3 separate regions of the Homo sapiens genome follow, and regions 2 and 3 are each linked to region 1. The links are contacts of gene promoters, found by promoter capture Hi-C in blood cells and fetal thymus (Javierre and others, 2016). All regions are on one chromosome and are shown on one strand. The core of a region is centred on a gene start or on the middle of the fragment in contact, and the rest is flanking DNA. Distances in the headings are between cores, read along the strand shown. Region 1 holds the start of GBP4 (guanylate binding protein 4). Region 2 overlaps GBP7 (guanylate binding protein 7). Region 3 has its middle 21 kb from the start of GBP5.

The links. Contacts are between HindIII fragments. The CHiCAGO score rates a contact against its expected background, and 5 or more counts as called.
Region 2: a fragment that was not itself captured here is called in contact with the fragment with the promoter of GBP4 in region 1 in 4 of 17 cell types (activated CD4 T cells, naive CD4 T cells, non-activated CD4 T cells and 1 more); the score reaches 9.2 in activated CD4 T cells.
Region 3: a fragment that was not itself captured here is called in contact with the fragment with the promoter of GBP4 in region 1 in 7 of 17 cell types (activated CD4 T cells, non-activated CD4 T cells, total CD8 T cells and 4 more); the score reaches 12.7 in activated CD4 T cells.

What each region holds. Positions count from the first base shown.
Region 1 is chr1:89,196,657-89,200,605 of GRCh38, forward strand. GBP4 (guanylate binding protein 4) reads right to left here and starts at 2,286. Exons shown (of 11, transcript NM_052941.5): 1 at 2,139-2,286; 2 at 454-648. The coding sequence starts at 2,178. It overlaps LOC107985076 (a long non-coding RNA gene), which reads left to right and starts at 1,691. Exons shown (of 3, transcript XR_002958332.2): 1 at 1,691-1,752; 2 at 1,847-2,402. RefSeq lists a silencer at 2,090-2,384. The HindIII fragment of the contact is 3,654 bases long and covers 2,120-3,949 here.
Region 2 is chr1:89,135,750-89,139,698 of GRCh38, forward strand. The region is part of intron 9 of GBP7 (guanylate binding protein 7); the gene reads right to left. The region is part of intron 1 of LOC105378842 (a long non-coding RNA gene); the gene reads left to right. Among named protein-coding and RNA genes, the nearest start is that of GBP2, 12 kb to the left of the region's middle. The HindIII fragment of the contact is 8,826 bases long and covers 1-3,949 here.
Region 3 is chr1:89,250,170-89,254,118 of GRCh38, forward strand. It overlaps the pseudogene LOC100421401. Among named protein-coding and RNA genes, the nearest start is that of GBP5, 21 kb to the right of the region's middle. The HindIII fragment of the contact is 4,280 bases long and covers 174-3,949 here.

The DNA.
Region 1 (3,949 bases), core at 1,036-3,535:
TGCCATGAAATGAAGCAAAAAATTAGAAATGGTAGCCCAATTTAAATAGAGGATACACAAGAATTATAATGCCTGTCCTTCTTCATATTTATTTTTTAAAACAGGATCTATTAAACTATATTTGTGTGCTATTTGAAGTGACCAGGTATCCTACACAAAAGTGATGAATGAGAAAGAAAGGGAATAATTGCTGGGGCTGAGCCCCTGAAGAGGTGAGCATAGATGGGATGAAGAAGACCCATGGAACGGATCTTTCGATAGGGTTGAGATGATTCTTTACTATTGGACTAAAGAGTGATATATATTTGAGATTGTAAATTTAGTGGTGAGAATTAGAAGTTTTCTTCATTGGGAGAAGTCATGCCCTTCTTTAGGATGACCCTAGAGGGGGTGTGATCAGCTGTGTTATCACTGGTTCCAAGTAAATGGCTCCTGTCCTAGGACCACACTCACCATTGCGCTTTCCTGCAAGACGATTCATGAGATAGGATTTTCCTGTGCGGTATAGCCCTACAATGGCCACCACCACCACGGGCTGAGAAATCTTGTCAAGAATCTCTAATGCCTTTGAATTCACTGTCAGCTGCTCTTCCTGGTTTTCCACTAGACAAATGGGGGCCATCATGATGGATTCAGATTCTGGATAACCTGTAACCCAGAAAAAAATACTCAGTAGAATACAAGATCTTGAAGTCATCCCTAAGGGCTACCTAAGGCACATACATATTAGCTTTTTGCTTGTGGAATGGTATATAAAATTTCTACATTTTAATGGTATATAAATATATTTCTACGTTTAATGGTATATAAAATTTCTATGTATATAAAATTTGTACATTTCAAATGGAAAAATATTTAGTTTAGCATGTCAAAGACTAGTACAGATCTGTTATGTACATTATTTATGATTCTTACAAGAACGCTAAAAATGCCTTGTCAAGGTGATGCATAAAATAAACAGAATTAGAAAATCAAGGCACTGATGGCAGAATAATTCCACTCCTGGAATAAATAGGGGCAGGATGTTACAAAAAGGAGATGAGGAGTGGTTAGAAAAGGCTCCAGGCATTCCAGAAGAATTTGCTCTCTCATTAATTTAATAAAGAGTATTGCGTACCTACCATGTGCTAATTAACACCGTTCTAGATTCTCAGCAACAAGCAAGGAACATAATTGATACAAACTTCTGCCTCTTGGAGCTCTATTTGTTGTAACCCAGCGAGTTACAGAGAAACGCCACACTCTGAGACGAATTCAGGAGTCCTTTATTAGCCGGCGACCGAGAGACGGCTAGTGCTCAAAATTCTCTCGGCCCGAAGAAGGGGCTAGATTTTCTTCTATACTTTGGTTTAGAAAGGAGAGGTTGGGGGGAGGGGTCTAGTTAAAACAATCCTACAGAAGTAAAGTAGGCAAAAAGTTAAAAGGATAAATGGTTACAGGAAAGTAAACAGTACTAGGTGCAGGGGCTTTAATTCTATCACAAGGTGATAGAAGCGGGGCTTTGGGCTTTATCAACCAGACACAAACGCGGGGGGCTCTGGGTGCTGTTAACCGGGCGAATTCCTGGGAACTGCGGGTATGGCTTGCCACAGTACCTTATCAGTTAATTGCATTCTTGGATGTGCTGGGAGTCAGCTTGCACAAGTTAAGTCCCTGAGGAAGCGGGTGGGTAAGGGGCTGCAAGTGAAGGAGCCGAGATGCAGACTGTCTGGCTCTTTCAGCTAAGGGAGAGTCAACTCAGGTTAAAACAAGGTAGGGTATCACATATTCTAGTGGGGGACAGAAAATTAATAAAACAAACAAGCAAAAAATGTGTATATGTATACTAGATGATGGTATTTCGCAGGAGAAAATGCCACAGCTCTGGGAGGAAGCCCGAGGAGGAGCAGCGCATCCTGGAGACACCGGTGCGCCTCTGGTCGCCGCCTGTGGACCGTCTAGAGACGCTGGGCCACACGGAGCAAAGCACTCAGGGGTTCAAGCAGCATCAGACTTCCCCGCGAGGTTCCTCCACTGCCTTTGTCACCCGCCAGTGTGAAGTCTCCAACCCTCCCCGTGTGCAGTCTGCGCTTGGGAATTTGTTGTTGTTTGTTATAACCCAAATATACTTGAAAGGTAAAGCTTAAGAGCAAACTTACCTGGTGTGGGCACTGCAGCGTGAAGAGTTCTCTCACCCATTGCTCTGTCCTCCTGCGCCTGGATCCTCGAGAAACGGACTGTTCTTAGAAGCTGAAAGTCCAGCCGGATTTACAGACATCCAAGTAAGAGTCTGTGAGAACCGAAATTGAAAGGACATGCACTTTGTGGGGAGTTGACTGTTGGGGATTTTCCTGTTTATCAAGACAGGAAACTAAAGGAGCTTGAAAGTGCTGGTTCCTCCACACCAGACTCCTGAAACTCAGGTTTGTTTGTCCCTCTTCCACCCTTAGCTTAGGTATCTTTCGCCTCCAAAATGAATATAGAGCAGCAGACATGAATGTTGTTTCATCTACCTGTCTCTCAGGGGTAATTTTGTCAGGGAAGAAATTTGAGTTTTTGTTTGCTTTTATTTTTTTTTACATGCTTATATGTTTCTGTTTCTCATCTCTTTTCTTTATTTTTTCATTAACCATAAAATATGTGTGTGTTTGTGTGTGTGTCTATGGATATCTATGTATCCTCTAACGTTGTTGCCCAGAGGTGCGGTGGTGGCAAGTAAATACTTCTCTTTCAAAACACAAACATCTCATTGAAACTGGATCTTTTGGAGGACAGGAGGATGATTGGACCATAAAAAGCATAATTTATAATTAGGAGTCTTACCCAGGCTACCAGAAAAATGGACTCAGTTCCTAAAATGACTAGCCAGTTTGTTAACAGAGTTTGGGAAATCTATCTGAAATAAATGGGTAATGATTCCCCATTTGTGCCTATCCCTTAGATCTTCCTATTTGTTTAGTAATGTCTGATTAAACATTTGCAAATTAATAAGTACAAAATTTTAGGCACTTAATCAGGTAAAATTACTGGTGCCGATTTTGATTCAAAACTTAACATTTATTTCCTATAAGCAATATTGAAAGTGAAAATAAAGCTAAGTCAAGTTTTAAATAGGACCAGTAATAAGAAATCAGGTGCTTTTTTCTCTTACCATTTTTTAATGTCAGGAAGTCCCTCTCTCTTAAAAAAAAAAAAAAAGAAGAAGAAGAAAAAGTACAGGGATGACTGAATCCAGGTAAATGTGTTTGAAACACCTGAATTTCACCAGTGGCACCCCTTTCCAGATAATCCAATGTTACTGACTTCAGATAATCATGGAAATGTTAATCAAGAAGAAATTTAGGCTGGGTGTGGTGGCTCACTCCTGCAATCCAACCATTTTGGGAGGCCAAGGTGGGCAGATCACTTGAGTCCAGGAATTGGAAACCAGCCTGGGCAATATGGGGAAACCCCATCTCTACAAATAATAATAATAATAAATTAGCTGGGCATAATGGCATGTGCCTGTTATAATAGTCCTAGTTACCTGGGAGTCTGAGGTGGGAGGATGACCTGAGCCCAGGAGGTCAAGGCTGCAATGAGCCATGGTGGTCCCACTGCACTCCAACCTGGGCAACAGAGTGAGATACTGTCTCAAAAAAAATTGTTAATTCACAGTTGTATGTATAATGATTGCACATAGCAATATGTCTATGCACATAGAAAATATACATAGCAATATGTCTGTGTTACACAGATAAAAGTCTATAAGTGTTCCCCCAACCACTACCTCCTTAAAATTAGTACTTCTAGCTCAGGTGATTTTTTTAAAATGTCTTTCTGAATTATATGAATTTTTAAAGACTTTTTTTATAATCACAGATATGCACACACATACTCATAAAAAGGAAATAACTTTTATTTTGATAAAAAGACTCTGAACATTTTTTGAATATTTTTCCATATCAGATTTTGAGCTTCTTATTTATAC
Region 2 (3,949 bases), core at 654-3,153, 61 kb before region 1:
CATGGATCATTGACACTACAGAGCAATAACACAATCAAGTGTGGATCAAATCCACACATATCAATATTAACTTTGACTGTAAAAGGGCTAACAACCCCAATTAAAAGGCACAGAGTGGCAAGTTGCATAAAGAAATAAGACCCAACTGTCTTCGATGTTCAAGAGACCAATCTCATATGCAATTACACCAATAGGCTCAAAGTAAAGGGATGAAGAAAAATCTATCAAGCAAATGGAAAACAAAAAGAGCAGGGGTTGCTATTCTTATTTCAGACAAAACAGACTCCAAACCAATAATGATCAAAAAGGATAAAGATGGGCATTACATAATGATAAAAGTTTCAATTCAACGAGAAGACTTAATTATACTAAATATGTATGCACCCAATACTAGAGGACCCTAGATTCATAAAACAAGTTCAAAGAGACCTATGAAGAGACTTAGATAACCACACAATAATAGTTGGAGTCTTCAACACTCCACTGACAATATTAGACAGATCATTGAGGCAAAAAACTAACGAAGATATTCAGGACCTAACTTGACATTTGACCAGATGGACCTAACAGACATCTACAGAACACTCCACCCAACAATAACAGAATATACATTCATCTCATCTGCACATGGCACATACTCTAAAATTGACTCCTTGCTCTGCCATAAAGCAATTCTCAACAAATAAAAAAAAAACCCAAATCATACCAATGCTGTCAGACCACAATGCTGTAAAAATAGAAATCAATACAAAGAATATCTCTCAAAGCTATACAATTACATGAAAATTAATTAATCTGCTTCTGAATGATTTTGGGGTAAACAGTGAATTTAAGGCAGAAATAAATTATTTGAAATTAATGAAAACAAAGATACAACCTACCAGAATCTTTGAGACACAACTAGAGCAGTGTTAAGAGGAATGTTAATAGCACTAAACGACTACAGTAGAAAGTTAGAAATATCTCAAATTAACAATCTAACATTACACCTTGAGGAACTAGAAAAACAAAAGTGAACCAAGCACAAAGCTAGCTGAGACAAGAAATAACCAAAATCAGACTTGAAGTGAATAAAGTGGAGACAAGAAAAACCATACAAAAGATCAATGAAACCAATGGTTCTCTGGAAAAATACATAAGATGGATATACTTCTAGTTAGACTAAAAAAGAACAAAAAAAGAGAAGATCCAAATAAACACAATAAAAAAATGGCAAAAGGGACATTGCTATCAACTCCACAGAAATACAAAAAATCCTGAGAGACTATTATGAACACCACTATGCACACTAACTAAGAAACCTAGAAGAAATGGATAAATTCCTGGAAACATACAACCTACCAAAAGTGAACCAGGAAGAAATTGAAACCTGGAACAGACTAATAACAAGTTCCAAAATTGGGTCAGCATTAAAAAGCCTACCAAGCAGAAAAAGCCCTAGACCAGACAGAGTCATAGTCAGTTCTGCCATACATAGAAAGAAGAGCTGGTACCAATTCTACTAAACTATTCCAAAAAAAATGGGGAGCAGGGAATCTTTCCTAATACATTCTATGAGGCCAGCATCATTCTGATTTTAAAAACCTGGCAGAGACACAACAAAAAAAGAAAAATGCAGGACAATATTCCTGATGAACATGGATGAAAAAATCTTCAACAAAATACTAGCAAACCAAATCCAGCAGCACATTAAAAAGCGAACCCACCACTGTCAATTAGGCTTTATTCCTGGAATGCAAGGTTGATTCAGCATATGCTAATAATAAATTGATTCCTCACACAAACGGGACTCAGAACAAAAACCAGATGATCTTCTCAATGGGCACAGAAAAGGCTTTTGATAAAATTCAATATTTCATGTTAAAATATCTCAACAAACTGGGCCTCAAAGGAACATACCTCAAAATAATAAAAGCCATCTATGAAAAACCCACAGCCAACATCATACTGAATGTGAAAAAGCTGGAAACATTTCACTTGAGAACCAAAAACAGACAAGGATGCCCACTCTCAACAACTCTTATTCAACATAGTACTGGAAGTCCTAGCCAGAGAAATCAGGCAAAGGGGAAAAAAAAAGTTATCCAATAGGAAGAGAGGAAGTCAAACTCTCTCTCTTCATAGACAATAGAATTCTGTAGTTAGAAAACTCCATAATTTCTGCCCAAAGTCTCATCCATCTGATAAACATCAGCAAAGTTTCAGGATAAAAAAGTAAATGTACAAAAATAAGTAGCATTTCTACACACCAATAATGTCCAAGCTGAAAGTCAAACCGAGAACACAATCCTATTCACAATAGCTATTGTGAATAACCAAGAATAAAATACCTAGGTTTACAGCCAATCAGGGAGGTGAAGCATCTCTACAATGAGAATTATAAAACACTGCTGAAAGAAATCTGAGACTGCACAAACAAATGGAAAATTATTTCATGCATATGGATAGGAAGAATCAATGTTGTTAAAATAGCCATACTGCCCAAATTGATTTACATATTCAATGCTATTCCTATCAAATTATCGATGACTTTTTAAAAATAGAATTAGTAAAAACTATTCTAACATCCACATGGAACAACAACAACAAAAAAACCCCGAGTAGCCAAGGCACTCCTAAGCAAAAAGAACAAAGCCAGAGACATCACATGACTTGAGTTTAAACTATATTACAAGACTACAATAACCAAAATAGCATGGTGCTGGTCAAAAAACAAAACAAAACAAAACAGACACATGAACAAATGGAAAAGTTTAAAGAAAGCAGAAATAATACCACACACCTACAACTATCTGATCTTTGGTAAAGCTAACAAAAAAAGCAATGGAGAAAGAATGCATTATTCAATAAATGGTGCTGGGTTAACTGGCTAGCTATATGCAGAAGATTGAAACTGGACCCCTTCTTCTCACTATATACAAAAATCAACTCAAGATGAGTTAAAGATGTAAATGTAAAATTTAAAACTATAAAACCACCAAAAGAAAACCTAGGAAATACCATTCTGGACATAGGCACTGGCAAAGATTTCCTGATGAAAACTTCAAAAGCCACTGCAACCGAACAAAAAGTTAACAAGAGGGACCTAATTCAACTAAAGAGTTCATGCACAACAAAGGAAACTATAAACAGAGTAAACAGACAACCTACAGAATGGGAGAAAATATCTGCAAACTATGCATCTGAAAAAAGTCTAATATCCAGAATCTATAAGGAAGTTAAAGAAATTAAGAACAAAGCAAACAACCCCATTAAAAAATGGGCAATGGACATTAACAGACATTTATCCAAGAAGACATACACATGGCCAGCAAGCATATGAAAAAATGCTCAACACCAAAACAGAGATATAGATCAATGGAACAGAACAGAGCCCTCAGAAATAATGCCACATATCTACAACCATCTGATCTTTGACAAACCTGACAAAAACAAGCAATGGGGAAAGGATTCCCTATTTCATAAATGGTGCTGGGAAAACTGGCTGGCCATATGTAGAAAGCTGAAACTGGATCCCTTCCTTACACCTTATACAAAAATGAATTCAAGATGGATTAAAGACTTAGATGTTAGACCTAAAACCATAAAAACCCTAGAAGAAAACCTAGGCAATATCATTCAGGACATAGGCATGGGCAAGGACTTCATGTCTAAAACACCAAAAGCAATGGCAACAAAAGCCAAAATTGACAAATGGGATTTAATTAAACTAAAGAGCTTCTGCACAGCAAAAGAAACTACCATCAGAGTGAACAGGCAACCTACAAAATGGGAGAAAATTTTTGCAACCTACTCATCTGACAAAGGGCTAATATCCAGAATCTACAATGAACTCAAACAAATTCACAAGAAAAAAACAACCCCATCAAAAAGTGGGTGAAGGATATGAACAGACACTTCTCAAAAGAAGACATTTATGCAGCCAAACAACACGTGAAAAAATGCTCAT
Region 3 (3,949 bases), core at 1,064-3,563, 54 kb after region 1:
AAATTTAAGATTCATTTACTTCAAAGAGGAGGTAGAGAAAGAGACAGAGGTAGAAAGCTTATTTAAAGGGATAATAACAGGGAATTTCCCAAACCTAGAGAAAGATATCAATATTCAAGTACAAGAAGATCATAGAACACCAAGCCAATTTAACCTGAAGAAGACTACCTCAAAGCTTTTAATTATCAAAGTCCCAAAAATCAAGGATAAAGAAAGGATCCTTAAAGCAGCAAGAGAACCTAAACAAATAACATACAATGGAGCTCCAGATACATTTGGCAGCAGACCTTTCAGTGGAAATCTTAGAGGCCATGAGAGAGTGGCATAATGTATTCAAAGTGCTAAGGAAAAAAGATACTTTTACCCTAGAATAGTATATCTGGTGAAAATATCTTTCAAACATCAAGAAGAAATAAAGACTTTCCCAGACAAACAAAAGTTGAGGGAGTTCATGAACATCAGACCTGTATAAAAAGAAATGCTAAAGGGATTACTTCAATCAGAAAGAAAAGGACATTAACAAGTAGTAAGTAATCATCTGAAGGTACAAAACTCACTGATAATAGTCAGTATACAGAAATACAGAAAAACACAGAATATGATTACACTGTAACTGTGGTGTATAAACTACTCTTATCCCAAGTAGAAAGACTAACTGATAAACTAATCCAAAATAATTAACTACAACAACTTTTCAGGACATAGTCAGTATGATAAGATATAAATAGAAACAATAAAAAGTTAAAAAGTGGGGGGACAAAGTTAAAGCATAGAGTTTTTATTAGTTTTCTTTTTGCTTGTTTGTAGTTTGTTTATGCAAAAGTTTTGTTATGAGCTTAAAATAGGAGATTATAAGACAATATTTGCAAGACTTATGGTAACCTCAAACCAAAAAACATACAACAGATAACACAAAAAAGAAACAGCAAAAAACTAAATCATATAACCAAAGAAAATCACTGTCACTATAGAAAGACAGGAAGGAAGGAAAGAAGTAAGAGAAGACCACAAAACAACCAGAAAACAATGAAATGGCAGGAGTACTACTTATCAATAATAACATTGAATGAAAATGGACTAAACCTGCCAATCAAAAGATGTGGCTAAATGCACAAGACCCATTGATGTGCTGCTATAAGAAACACACTTCACCTATAAAGACACTCATAATCTGAAAACAAAGAGATGGACAAAGGTATTCCATGCCAATGGAAACAACAAAACAAGCAGGAGTAGCTATACTCATATCAGGCCAAAATAGATTTCAAGACAAAAACTATAAGGAAAAACAAAGCCAGTGAGTATATCATGATAAAGGGGTCAATTTAACAAGAGAATATAACAATTTTAAGTATATATGCACCAAACGCTGGAGCATCCAGATATATAAAGCAAATATTATTAGAGCTAGAGAGAGAGACTGCAATACAATAATGGCTGGAGACTTCAATACCCCACTTTCAGCATTGAACAGATCTTCCAGACAGAAAAGCAACAAAGAATCATTGGGCTTAATCTGCACTATAGACCAAATGGATCGAATAGATATTTACAAAATATTGCATCCAATGGCTGCAGAATACATATCCTTTTCCTCAGCTCATGGATTATTCTCAAGAATAGACCATATGTTAGGTAACAAAACAAGTCTTAACACATCTAAAAAATTAAAATAATATCAAGCATCTTCCCTAACCACAATGGAATAAAACTAGAAATTAACAAGACAGTTTTTGGAAACTATAAGAATACATGAAAATTAAACAATGTGGTCCTGAATGACTAATGTGTCAATGAAAAAATTACGAAGGAAATTGAAAAACTTTTTGAGACAAATGATAATGAAAATACAACATAGCAAAACCTATGAGATACAGCAAAAGCAGTACTAGCAGGGAAATTTATGGCTATAAGTGCCTACATTAAAAAAAAGAAAAACTTCAAAGAAACAACCTAATGACTAATCTTAAAGAAGTAGAAAAGAGCAAACCAAACCTAAAATTAGAAGAAAATAAATAATAAAGAGCAGAGTAGAAATAAATGAAATTGAAATGAAAGTAACAATACAAAAGATCAATGAAACAAAAGTTGTTTTTTAAAAAATTAAACAAAATTAACAAACCTTCAGTCAGACTAAGAAAAAAGAAAGTATTCAAATAAACAAAATCAGAGATGAAAAAGGAGACATAATGGGTACTGCAGAAATTCAAAGGATCATTAGTGGCTACTATGAAAAACTATATGCCAATACATTGAAAAATCTGGAAGAAATGGAAAAATTCCTAGACACATACAACCTACCAAGATTGGACAACGAAGAAATCCAAAACCTGAACAGACCAATAACAAGTAATGATAGTGAAGCCATAAGAAAAAGTCTCCCAGTAAAGAAAAGCCTGGGACGCAACGACTTCACTGTTTAATTTAAAGAAGAGGTTATACCAATTATATTCAAACTATCCTTAAAAATAGAGTAGGGAGGAATACTTTCAACCTCAGTTAATGAGGCCTGTATTACCTTGATCAAAATCAGACAATGACACATAAAAAAGAAGAAAGCTACAGGCTCATACCTCTGATGAGTATTGATGTAAAAACTCTCAAGAAAATACTAGCAAACCAAATTCAACGGTACATTAAAAAGACCATTCACCATGACCAAGTGGGATTTATCTCTGGGATTCAAGTATGGTTCAACCTACGAAAATTAGTCAATGTGATACTTCATATCAACAGAATGGAGGACAAAAGCCATATGGTCATTTCAGCTAATGCTGTAAAAGCATTTGATAAAATTCAACATCCCTCCATGATAAAAACCCTAAAAAAACTGGGTAAGGAAGAAACATATCTCAAGATAATAAAAGCCATATACAACAAACCCACAGTTTTTATGACACTGAATTGGAAAAAAACCTGAAAGCCTTTAAGAACTGGAACATGACAAGGATGACCACTTTCACCACTGTAACTCAACATAGTATTGGATGCCCTAACTAGAGCAATCAGACAAGAGAAAGATATAAAGGGCATCCAAATTGGAAAGCAAGAAGTCAATTTATCATTATTTGCAGATTATATGATCTTATATTTCAAAAAACCTAAAGACACCACCAAAAAAACAATGAAAACTGATAAGCCAACTTAGTAAAGTTGTAGGATATAAAATCAACATACAAACATCAGTAACATTTCTGTATGCCTACAGTGAACAATGTGAAAAATAAAAGTAATCCCATTTCCAACAGCCACAAATAAAATTAAATACTCAAGAATTAACTAAAAAAGTGAAAGATCTCTATAATGAAAATTATAAGACACTGATGAAGGAAATTGAAGAGGACAGAAAAATATGGAAAGATATTCCATCTTCATGGATTGGAAGAATCAATATTGTTAAAATGTTCATACTGCCCAGAGCAATCTACAGATTCAATGCAATCTCCATCAAAATACTAATGACATTCTTCACAGAAATAGAAAAAAATAAAGCTATCCCAAAATTTATTTGAAACCACGAAAGACCCAGAATAGCCACAGCTATCCTGAGCAAAAAGAACAAAACTGGAGGAATCACATTACCTAACTTCAAATTACAGATCAATAGCAACCAAAACAGCATGGTAGTGGCATAAAAACAGACACATAGGCCGGGCGCGGTGGCCGACGCCTGTAATCCCAGCACTTTGGGAGGCCAAGGCGGGCGGATCATGAGGTCAGGAGATAGAGACCATCCTGGCTAACACGGTGAAAAACCGTCTCTACTAAAAAAATAAAAAATAAAAATTAGCCTGGCATGTTGGCGGGCGCCTGTAGTCCCAGCTACTGGGGAGGCTGAGGCAGAAGAATGGCGTGAACCCGGGAGGCGGAGCTTGCAGTGAGCTGAGTTCGCGCCACTGCACTCCAGCCTGGGCGACAGAGAGAGACTCGTCTGAAAAACAAAACAAAA